Regions from separate parts of the Homo sapiens genome. Here regions 1 and 2 are each linked to region 3. The links are contacts of gene promoters, found by promoter capture Hi-C in human tissues and cell types (Jung and others, 2019). All regions are on one chromosome and are shown on one strand. The core of a region is centred on a gene start or on the middle of the fragment in contact, and the rest is flanking DNA. Distances in the headings are between cores, read along the strand shown.

What was found. Contacts are between HindIII fragments. The study calls those that stand out against the background at their distance.
Region 1: a contact is called between a fragment that was not itself captured here and the fragment with the promoter of ATG14 in region 3, in 1 of the 25 tissues and cell types used here (IMR-90 fibroblasts).
Region 2: a fragment that was not itself captured here is called in contact with the fragment with the promoter of ATG14 in region 3 in 2 of the 25 tissues and cell types used here (aorta and hippocampus).

What each region holds. Positions count from the first base shown.
Region 1 is chr14:55,236,389-55,240,378 of GRCh38, reverse strand. No RefSeq gene overlaps it. Among named protein-coding and RNA genes, the nearest start is that of FBXO34, 33 kb to the left of the region's middle. The HindIII fragment of the contact is 9,558 bases long and covers 1-3,990 here.
Region 2 is chr14:55,641,896-55,645,729 of GRCh38, reverse strand. The region is part of intron 18 of KTN1 (kinectin 1); the gene reads right to left. Among named protein-coding and RNA genes, the nearest start is that of KTN1, 64 kb to the right of the region's middle. The HindIII fragment of the contact is 7,767 bases long and covers 1-3,834 here.
Region 3 is chr14:55,410,113-55,413,846 of GRCh38, reverse strand. It overlaps ATG14 (autophagy related 14), which reads left to right and starts at 2,017. Exons shown (of 10, transcript NM_014924.5): 1 at 2,017-2,245. The coding sequence starts at 2,025. It also overlaps a transcript of FBXO34 not described here and the pseudogene RPL21P6. RefSeq lists a silencer at 1,728-2,027. The HindIII fragment of the contact is 14,251 bases long and covers 1-3,734 here.

The DNA of each region.
Region 1 (3,990 bases), core at 65-2,564, 170 kb after region 3:
AATTAATTTTACAGTGAAGAAATTCAGCAGACACCATCTTAACCAAGTGATAAAAGTCAACCCTGATAGAAATAGAACAAATTACGTTGTTGCCTTCTGATGCTGCACTGAGAAGAACATAGCATCACTTCTGTGGTACGCCTCCATAAAAACCCACTACCAACAAATAACCTGAATCTAACCATGAGAAACTTAAGGCAAACTCAAGCGTAGGGACAGTCTACAAATTAATTGCCTGTTCTCTTTTAAACGGTCAACATGAAAGACATGGAAAAACTGAGGAATCTCCAAGTTGAAGGAGGTTAAGAAGACATAACAATTAAATTCAACACATGATCTTCTATTGGTTCCTGGGTCAGAAAGGAAAGGGTGATTATAAAGCACATTATGGAGACAATCAGTGAAATTTGAATCTAGTCTGCAGATTGGATGTTAGTATTGTATTAATTTTAATTTATTGATTATAATGATTTTACTGGACTTTTATATGTTTTATATACAAAATGAGAGAGAAAAAGATAATATGGTAAAATATTAATTGATTAGGGAATCTAAGTAAAGGATAAAGAGAAGTCTCTGAATTATTCCTGCAATTTGCTGTAAGATTGAAATTATTTTAGAATTATTTTTTAAAAGCATAATGTATCATATAAAATATATTAAATTTCAGTTCCCTGAAAGTTATAGGGCTTCTAGAAACATGACAGTGAGAGCATGGTTTTGGATCTTCTCAAACCCCCTGCATATGAACAGAGAAACTAGACAACAAAATTAAAACTCAAGGATAACATTTACAGCTAAAGAAGATGGCAAGGCATCCCCACAAACCACAGAATAGAAGCATATGGGGACACACCATCGTCAACCACAAGACCTGCATGATGTTGGAGTGTGTGTAAGAGACAGGAAAGGGAGCCCATGAGACATTTGATAGAGTGAGAACAGGAGAATCCAAAGAGCAACAGCATTCACTGGAAAGCACAATGGGTCAATCCATGAGTGGCAACTGAAACTGGTAGGGGTTTTGCCCATTTTAATTGCAGAAGAGCACAAGGAAACTCAGTAAGACCTAAAGGGGTGGGGACATTCTAACCCCTCTGAATTTACAATACTGAATGTCCAAATCTCACTTCCAGGACACAGCTCTGAGAGAAACTGCTGGGTGTGGGATCAAAATTGATCAAGATAGGGACAACACATAAAAAGGAGATCCAGGCCGGGCATGGTGGCTCACACCTGTAATCCCAGGATTTTGGGAGGCCGAGGCGGGTGGATCACCTGAGGTGGGGAGTTCGAGACCAGCCTGATAAACATGGAGAAACCCCGTCTCTACTAAAAATACAAAATTAGCCAGGCATGGTGGCGCATGCCTGTAATCCCAGCTACTCGGGAGGCTGAGGCAGAAGAATCACTTGAACCCAGGAGGCCCGGAGGTTGCAGTGAGCCGAGATCGCGCCAGTGCACTCCAGCCTGGGCAACAAGAGTGAGACTCCATCTCAAAAAAAAAAGGAGATCCAGATAAAAAGTAAATAAGGAGAGCAGAGCCAGGAAATCTCAAAACTGCAGACAGTTATATATTTAAAACTTTACACAAAAGCGAAGAAGTACCTCAGTGATGTTAGCAAAATCTATCTGAACCTAGCCACCATTAGAAGTTCAGAAAAACTAATTTTACTTAAGAACGAACAATAGAAAAATACTAAGGTCAAATTCCAAATTTACTAAAAGAAAAAAAGAGAATACGGAGCAGAATAACATTCCTGCAAAAAATGAAAGTACACCATAAAGACATATTCAAGAAGCAGATCAAAACGATAATGCGAAAAAAAAGACTAAAAACTATAATGTGGCCAGACGCAATGACTCATATGGCTCATGCCTATAATCCCAGCACTTTGGGAGGCCAAAGTGGGTGGATCATTTGAGCCCAGGAATTCCAGAACAGCCTGGGCAACATGGCGAAACCCCGTCTCTACAAAAAATTAGTTGGGTGTGGTGGTGCACGTCTGTGGTTCCAGCTACTCGCGGGGCTGAGCCAGGAGGATCGCTTGAGCCCAGCAGTTCGAGAGCAACCTGGGCAACATAGGGAAACCCCATCTCTAAAAAAGAGGAAAAAAGAAAAAAAAATTATAGTAACGATTAACACTAAACTAGAAGAAAAAAGGGAAACACACTCACACACACACACACAAAATGCTTTAAGAGAAGTAGTAGATGAAAGGAGGAAGTTGCCTGTAGAACTAAGACAAAATAAAATTTAAAAGGGAGGCAGATGATAGAATATAAAGGTTATATGCTCTGACAGGGTAGCTATGATACAACAATTTAAAACTGGGGTAAGAATGGGGATAACATATAAAAAATTATTTACCATTTTCAGTAGTTGGTGGTGATTGTATTATGAATATTAATTGCCAGTAGTAAAGTTGTTATTCTAAAATAACTACTATTATTATTCTGAGATTGCTGGTTTTATGTGGGAAAAAGTAAATGAAAGTCATGAAATTTTCAAATTCTATCATCCCCTGTTACCTTGAGAACTAGGGTTCTTGGCATGGAGGAAAGGAGATATAGATTTAATATAGAAGTTAACTAAAAACCTTGTAGTTATAATTTAAAATGCAAATGTTAGTATAAACTCTGGAAAGGAAAATAAATCTCTGGGCCCCAAAATCACTCAAGCTGGGAACTGCTTAGGGCAAATCTGCCTCCCCTTCTATTCAAAGTCACCCCCCTCTGCTCCCTGTGATAAATATATACATATCTGATTGCCTCATTTGGAGAAGCTAATCAGAAGTTCAAAAGAATGCAACCATTTGAATCTTATCTACCTGTGACCTGGAAGCCGCCTCCCTGCTTAGAGTTGTCCTGCTTTTGCCTCAAGTTGTCCCACCTTTCCAGACTGAACCAATGTACATCTTACACACATTGATGTCTCATGTCTCCCTACGATGTACAAAACCAGGCCGGGCACGGTGGCTCAAGCCTGTAATCCCAGCACTTTGGGAGGCCGAGGCAGGCGGATCATGAGGCCAGGAGTTGGAGACCAGCCTGATCAACATGGTGAAACCCCATCTCTACTAAAAATACAAAGATTAGCCTGGCGTGGTGGCACATGCCAGTAATCCCAGCTACTTGGGAGGCTGAGGCAGGAGAATCGTTTGAACCCAGGAGGCGGAGGTTTCAGTAAGCCGAGATGGCGCCACTGCACTCCAGCCTGGGTGACAGAGCAAGTCTCAAAAAAAGTACAAAAGCAAGCTGTGCTCCTACCAGCTTGGGCCCATGTCATCAGGACTCCTGAGGCTGTGTCATGGGTGTGGGTCCTCAGCCTTGGCAAAATACACTTTCTAAATTAACTGAGAACTGCCTCAGATTTTTGGAGTTCACAACTCATAAGGCATTATACCTATTATATGTAGTTCTTTCCACTGAAAAGACTTAGAAACAGTGACTCCATTGTGGTCTTGAAATATCATTTCCCATTAGAAGAAACCAGGGTTTCTTGGAGAAATGGCTGATTCCAAAATTCCAAGGTTTGGTTTTTGGTTGTTGGTTTTAATTTTATTTAACTTTTAACTGACAAGTAATAATTGTATATATTTATGGAACACAAAGTGATATTCCCTTTTTTTTTTTTTTGAGTCTTGCTCTGTCACCCAGGCTGCAGTGCAGTGGCACCATCTCAGCTCACTGCAGCCTCAATCTCCCAGGTTCAAGTGATTCTCATGCCTCAGCAAGAGGTTAGCTCTCTTGCCCAGGCTGGAGTGCCGTGGCCTGATCTCTGCTCACTGCAACCTCCGCCTCCCAGGTTCAAGCAATTCTCTTGCCTCAGCCTCCTGAGTAGCTGGGATTACAGGCATGTGCCACCATGCCAGGCTAATCTTTGTATTTTTAGTAGAGATGGGGTTTCACCATGTTGATCAGGCTGGTCTCCAACTCCTGGCCTCATGATCTGCCTACCTCGGCCTCCAAAAGTGCTGGGATTACAGG
Region 2 (3,834 bases), core at 417-2,916, 230 kb before region 3:
TTGTAGGAGGCACAGGAAAAAACTTCCCAATGGGAAAAAATAATCCAAACATGAGAAGGGAAATAGGAGTTGTCAAAAGTACATTAAATCAGGTTTATACTATGAAAAACAAATCATGCATTAAGCCTTTAAATCATTCATGAAGATGGCTTTTGTCCATCTATATTTTCAATGAATGCCATCTCACAAAAAGACATAACACTATTAAGTCTAAGTTACCTGCACCTTAACCATTTACTGTATTGTACCTTTAGTTACTCCTACCTACCAGAGTATTCTTTCTAAAATGTTAGGCTAAATGCTCATTTATCCTTGCAACACTCTTTAGTGGCTTACCCACATGCTGCATCAGGTTCATGGTCCTGACACAGCATACAAAGCCCTTCATAATTAGGTCTTAGCAAATCTTTCTCTACTCCTTACATCCTTCCTGTATTTTGTACTTCTGCAATATACCAATACTCTGAATATGCCAATCTTGCCACACTGTCATGTCTTTGAACATTGTATTCCCTCAGCCTGGACTGTCTCTTAGCTCTTTGGCAAATTCATGCTCATTTTTCAAAACGAGGTTTAGTTGTTCCCTGTGTTACCTCCCCACCTCCTTCAAATATTAATAGAATGCATTATCTCTTCCTCTAAACCTGTATAGAGTTCAGAAACTTCATTCACCATAACTTTCTGTTTAACATATCTATCTCCATATTAGGAGGGCAAGAATCAAGTCTCATTCATCTCTGCAACCTCAGCATGTAGGTAAGCAACTAGCATATACTCAACTAGTAAATAAGTATTTGATGAATTTTTTTTAATGAAGTTCCAGTTTAGAAAGTATTCTTGGTCTGCAGCTCATCAAATACTCTATTGCATAAACCTGACTCAGCTTAGTTTGCATCTCCTCCAACATTTTTACTTTACTTCATACTTTATTGGTTTAATCCAATCCTACTGTTTCCTCCCCTAGATGATTTCCAAAACTAAACCATATACAATATATTCTGCAATACAATTTAACAAGGCAGTAGGGCAAAAAGAAGAAACTTCTTATAGTTTTCACTTAATAATCTTGATCACTGAATCTTAAAAATCTACTGGAATAAGAATGTCATGCTGCTCCTTCACTAAAAGTCAAAATGTGCTCCCCCACAGCAAAAAAAAAAAAAAAAAAAGTCTTATTCTGAGTAAATGAAATATTAGTAAATGATTTATTTGCATTATCTGACCATCTGCAAGCCTAAATCCAAATGCAGCCTTCCCTCCTTTAGGGTATCAACAGGTTAACTTACTTGGTACCTGTTGTCTTTCTGCTTCCTACACCTGAAGAAACAACAACTTGGCACCATTATTGGTTTCTGCTTTTATACGCTCAATCTTTTCCTCCAGAATAAAAATCCATGGGGTAAAAGGACTGAAATTTTTACATAACTAAACTGTTCAATCTCTCAACTGTCACTTGGAATTCTGACTGTGGGATAGAAAGGGGTTAAAGAAAAGTGGAAATGACAGAAATTAAGATTATACCAATCTTTTCTCTTCTTTCACTAGCAGCAACAATAAAAACGACTAGAGGAAAAGCCACAGAAATGATTCTTTGTCTGCCAAGATGAAAGAAGTCTCAACTATAACCAAAACCTCAGTCATATGCTTTCTAGACTATTAATAAAAAGCTTTCAGAGTCAGAAGAACAATTCTAAGAATTACCCAACAGATCTTAAATTAGTATCACAAAATGAGTTTCCCCCTTATCAAATAATTCTTTTAAATAAATCAAAAAATGTGGCTATAAAATTTTATCCTGTGAATTATTCTTCATAACAAAAGCACATCTCATACTAAAAGTTGTCACTTTAACAAAACATCTAAAAGTACGTAGAAACATTATAATAAAAGGCTGACTTAATAAGATAGCAATAATATTAACTTTCATAAATATGATTGGGAATTTTACATAAGGTATTACAATGGCATTTCTCAAGGTATTACATGATTTTAAAGGAAAAGAAAAATTTAAGGCTGGTGGTTTTACTTTTATCTAATGATGGAAAATACCATTTTTAGCAAAGAACAGAAGTTTTCTGTTTAAATAAGAGTCGCCAGCACCTGGATACTACTAGAATATAAGAATTCTAGGACAGTTTCAGAAGTTTCTAAGCATTTGTTTTACCTCCATGAAGTTAATTTTAAAGTTTAAAACTTCATACACTGGTTATCAGCATTTCAAAAATCTCTGGTAACTAACACACAGAAACTATACTCTGCTTTTCCAAGTAAGAACACACACACAAAAATCTATTACATTTTATCTAATCCAAGTCACCAATGTTATATCTCACCACTGCTATTTAACAGTAAAAATTAAAAATGTTGCCAACTAAACAACTAAACTGTAACCAGAGACTACAAGATACATTCTTATTTCAGAGATGGTAAGGGAGGGTGGGGGGAGAGAAATCTTATAATTGGTATCATATCTTTTTTGTAAGCTATACCAGAAAAGGAAATAAGACAAAAATAAGCCTTAGCTGGGCACAGTGGCTCACATCTGTAATCCCAGCACTTTGGGAGGCCGAGGCAGGCAGATCACTTAAGGCCAGGAGTTCAAGACCAGCCTGGCTAATATTGCAAAACCCCGTCTCTGCTAAAAATACAAAAATCAGCGGAGCATGGTGGCATATGCCTGTAGTCCCAGCTACTCAGGAGACTGAGGCACGAGAATGGCTTTAACCTGGGAGGTGGAGGATACAGTGAGCCAAGATAGTGCTACTGAACTCCAGCCTGGGCAACAGAGGAAGACTCTGTCTCAAGAAGAAAAAAAAAAAAAAGAATAAGCCTTAAATGCCATTTAAACTAAATATCATCCCTTCAGCACTGTCTCCTCTATTACCTTTAGTTTACAAGGGTAAAGCAAATACAAAGTAAGTAGTAAGACTATGTAATAATGCACTTAATATCATACGGGGAGGTAGAATAAATGGATTATTTCTTGACAAGTTAACAAAATACTTCCAGAGGCACAGCTACTTACACCAGCTCAATATCTGCATAAATGTGAATTTTAAAATAAATGAAAGAACGCATGCATTTGCTAAAGAAGTGCTATCATTTGCAATGGCTTTACATTTCGGCTTCCAATAAAAGTACAATTCAAAAACTTAATATTAGGAACAAACGCAAACTTCCTATTCTAATGTGTCATCAAGAGTTTGTGTTTTATTAATAAATTGTAATTGTAAGAGCTGCGTAGAAGAAGAGTACGAAGGCAGCACTGAGGAATAGGCAGAGAACAGATACCACTGGGCTCTAATTTATGGAACCATGCTTATTCAAAGCTGATATAGTTTTGATGTCTTGCTATAAATATAAAATGAATAGTGATGGTGGCAGGGGATGGAGATGAGATGGATAAAATAAATACTCTAAGGGAAAAGAATTAAGGTTTAGATACCTGTCATAAACAAAGCACTAGACTAGGCACCATACATAAGCTTCTCCTTTCAAATCTAACAACTTTATGGTGTAAATATAATATAATCTCCATGTGAAAGGCTTGGAATGAGAGGTGTCACAAAGGTTAAGCTATTTGATCAACATCACACTGCTTTTAAGTGCTAGTAATAAGTTTCAACCTTTAAAGACACCATGCTCCCTAAAAGAAAAAGCTGAGGCTCCAAGTCTAAGGCAGGACATTTATTCTGAAAGTCAAATGTATCAAAATGGCTTAAATTATTTTTATGCATCCTATTACACATTTTTATTTTTCTGGAATGTGCTTTTGAGCAGATTGGCATTAGCTTCACCTCAGGGAGAAAAAATTTCCTGAATTTAGATACAGGA
Region 3 (3,734 bases), core at 768-3,267:
GTTGGCATTGTAAACAAGGGCAAGATTTTTGCCAAGAGAATGAATGTGCTTACTGAGCCAGGCTGGTCTTGAACTCCTGACCTCAGTTGATCCATCTGCCTGGGCCTTGGCACTCTAAGAGCCAAGTAAGTTTCCTGAAACGCGTGAAGGTAAATAATCAGAAAAAGACGTCAAAGGGAGAGGTGTCTGAGTTCAACTGAAGCGCCAGCCTGCTCCACCCAGACAAGCACTTAGAACCAATGGAGGGAGCCTGGGCTGCTGGAACCTATTCCCTATGAGTTCATGGCATAATAGGTGTCAAAAAAAATTCTGAACTGTACAAATGTTTCTCTTCATTGAGAAGTGTGGCGCCGCCCCCTCCCCTTAAAGAAATATTTAAACTACATTTTGTATCCAAAAACCTCAGTGCTCTGCTGTTAAGTAATACATTAATATGCGTTCTCTGAAAATATATAGCAACATATAGGAGTTTCAAATAACTGCATAAGCTAGATACTATCTGTGATATCATCTAGCACGATAGGAATTAATGTGTATTTTTTGCCTTTTAAAATATTGAACAGTTGATCCTGATCATTAGGTATTAAGCACTGTGAAGGATCCTGTCTGAATACAAATGAAACATAAGCCCGAGACCTTAAAAAATAATCCTTTTGTTTGAAATGATCAGAGAGAAAGACTTCTCACTTAAAAATAAATCTTAAACTTTCAGGAACCATTCAAGTTTAGTGTAAACTGTATTCTGAATATAGAGAATTTTTGCTTTTGCTTGTTTTTGTAATCCTACGTGATTTGTATTTAAAAAGACTGGGTAAGATTAAGAAGACGGAGGAGCAAAGGGCTCAGATTCAAGACCTAATTAGCTTGTAGAATCACCAGTTTTCGATGGTGATGTGGAGATTAACAGGGAGGGACGGGCTAATATGAATCATGGCTCTTGGCTGTAAATCATCAGTGATTACGTCCTTTACCAAAGTAAGAAAACAGGTTTGTAGGGAGGCAGAAGTCAGTTTCCAACACTTTGAGTTTGTGGTGTCCTGGAATGTCACCTGATACCTAGTAAGTAGTTCTGGATCTTTGGGTATGGAACTTGAGAAAGGAATCCTGGCTAGAGAGAGAATTCAGGGCAGTTTATCAGTAGATAGCCTAGTAAAATCATCCTTGAGAATCACTGGTCTATTTAATCTCACCTATAAACTCACTTTTCTCTGTAGTTTAGAGGCATATTCAAACACTAATTACTCTGATATGATCCTCCCAACACATCACCTTATATATCCCCTATCCACCAAAAGAAACTTGAAGGGAAGTCCTAACCATCTACCTAGTTCAAATTCTCTTAGAGCATGGCCCAGGGTAGGGAAGGTACGTTAGCCACGTGATTAACTTTTCAGAAGGATACAATTCTGATTTTGCACGTTCACTTTGGTTGTTTTCACTATTGGTAAAGTATAATACTATTAACCATATTAATCCTCACGGCATTAGATGGGTACTATAATTCTATCCATTTAACACGAGAGAACAGGCGCAGAGAGATTAAGGAACTTGCCCCAAGTCACACAGCTATTAAGCAGGTGAGTGAGCCAAAATTCAACCTAGTTCCAAGACCCAGCCCCTTCACCCTACTTTGTTTGCTGTAGTTTAGCCAGATTTTAAAGCATCCACAGCAAGTTAAATTCCCTTATTCCGCTCCCATTCCGTTTTCCCAGAATCCTTAGGGTATGGTATTACAATTTTCTGCACAAGTTTGAGGCTTTAACTCGTAGTCTTGGCCTGAGCCAGCAGATGACATTTTGTTTGGCCGACTAGCCCCTCTAATATAACTCTCCCCCTGCTTCGGGACCTGTTGCCCCTCAGCAGACCGGAAAAACAACAGTGCCCGGGACAGGAACACGCGGCGGCGGAGGGGTCCGGGGGCTCGCCGGCATCCCAGCCCCCCTTCCCCAGGCCCCTCCTCCTGGCCCAGAATGCACCCGGTTGAAAACAAAATCCCACGTGACTGGCTCTCCTCTCAGGCCATCATGGCGTCTCCCAGTGGGAAGGGAGCCCGGGCGCTGGAGGCTCCTGGCTGCGGGCCCCGGCCGCTCGCCCGGGACCTGGTGGACTCCGTGGACGATGCGGAGGGGCTGTACGTGGCTGTGGAGCGCTGCCCGCTGTGCAACACTACCCGCCGGCGGCTGACCTGCGCCAAATGCGTTCAGAGCGGCGATTTCGTCTACTTCGACGGCCGCGACCGGGAGAGGTACGGCGGCCGCCACGGCCCTATTGTTTCTTCTGCTGTGTGTCCTCCAGCCAGGCAGCCGAAGGCTGGAACCTGGGGCTCCCCGTCCGGGCACCAGATACCAGCGAGAGGAGCGAGAGAGAGGGAGTGTAGCTAGCTGCTCTGCACCGGAGCTTTGCTACCAGAGGACAGCGTAGGGGCCAGATGAGGGAAGGTCGCCGTTTCCCCATCACCCACCCAAGAGGAGTTTGACCCCACGGTGCTCTTGGTCACTGGGGAAAAAAGGAATAAGTGGTGACTCTCTGGAGAAGTTTTCCCGTTGCTGCCATTAAGTTAGATTCCCAGCTCTTTGCTGTATGTACTCCCATTCAAAAGCTTGGCTTTCTATTTTCGAAAGCATATTTATACTCATTCTCTAGAGGAGAGAGTAGAAGAGAATCAAATAACTGCTTTAGAGGGATTTGGGCCTGGTAGTCTGTCACAGATGGACTTTGTTATCAGACATGCTTACTCTAATGTGTGAATTGAGGCTTGCTGTTAACGCCCCTTTCCCCTCCCTGCCTCTAAAGATTATTTTAGATTCTTAGGAATTTGGGAACGTGTTTTGGCCTTGTTTTAAAATTCAGATTGGGAGCTGCATGCTTTTAGTTAAGAGAATTGCCTTTAGGAAAATGTTTTGGTTTCATTTCGAAATCTAAACAGCTACAAGTTCTTGGTTAAGAAAATTGAAAAATTAGTGTGATTAGCTGCAGGATCTCCCACTCTCAACTTATGTTTCAACAATTTAGTGTCAATGATAGTCAATGATAGTAAGATAGCTAGCATTCTGAGCACAAAAATTCAGGTATTAATTCATTCGCAACAACCGAATGACTTATCCCCAACTTATTAGGAAGCTGCACAGTAAGTGCTTTGCCCCAGGTCACACAAATAGTTAAGTGTTGGTACAAGAATTAAAATTCAGACAGCTTGGACCTATGTACCCGCACTTAACCACTAGACTTTATATCCTCTATATTTGGGAATGTTTTGAGTTCTTAGTATTTCTGTGATCGTGGATGGAGTTCTTTCCTTTCTCTTTTGAGGAGGTTTGAATGACAAACTCTTTTTTAGTTTTGTTGCTGTGTCTTATTGGTGCTCTTGATGACTTTAGAAACTGCTTATGTAGTAAGTGATAGCTTTAAAAATTAAACCAGTTATAAGAATACGGGGTATGAGATGGAAATGTCTAACTGATGGAGTGAATCGAGGATTTGGTTCTGGACCTTCTTGTCTGTCTACACGTTTTACTATGTCTATTCACATAATTTAAATACCATCTATATGCTTAAGACTGCCAGACTTGTATCTCCAACCTAGTCTTCTCTAAAGTCCAGAAAACAGCTGCTTATTCAACATCAATATTTTTAGATTTGTAATAGATATCTTCATTTTAATATGGCAAACTGAACTCCTTGTTTTCCATCATAAATCTGTTTTCCCATGCTCATCCCAACCCAGTAAATGTCAA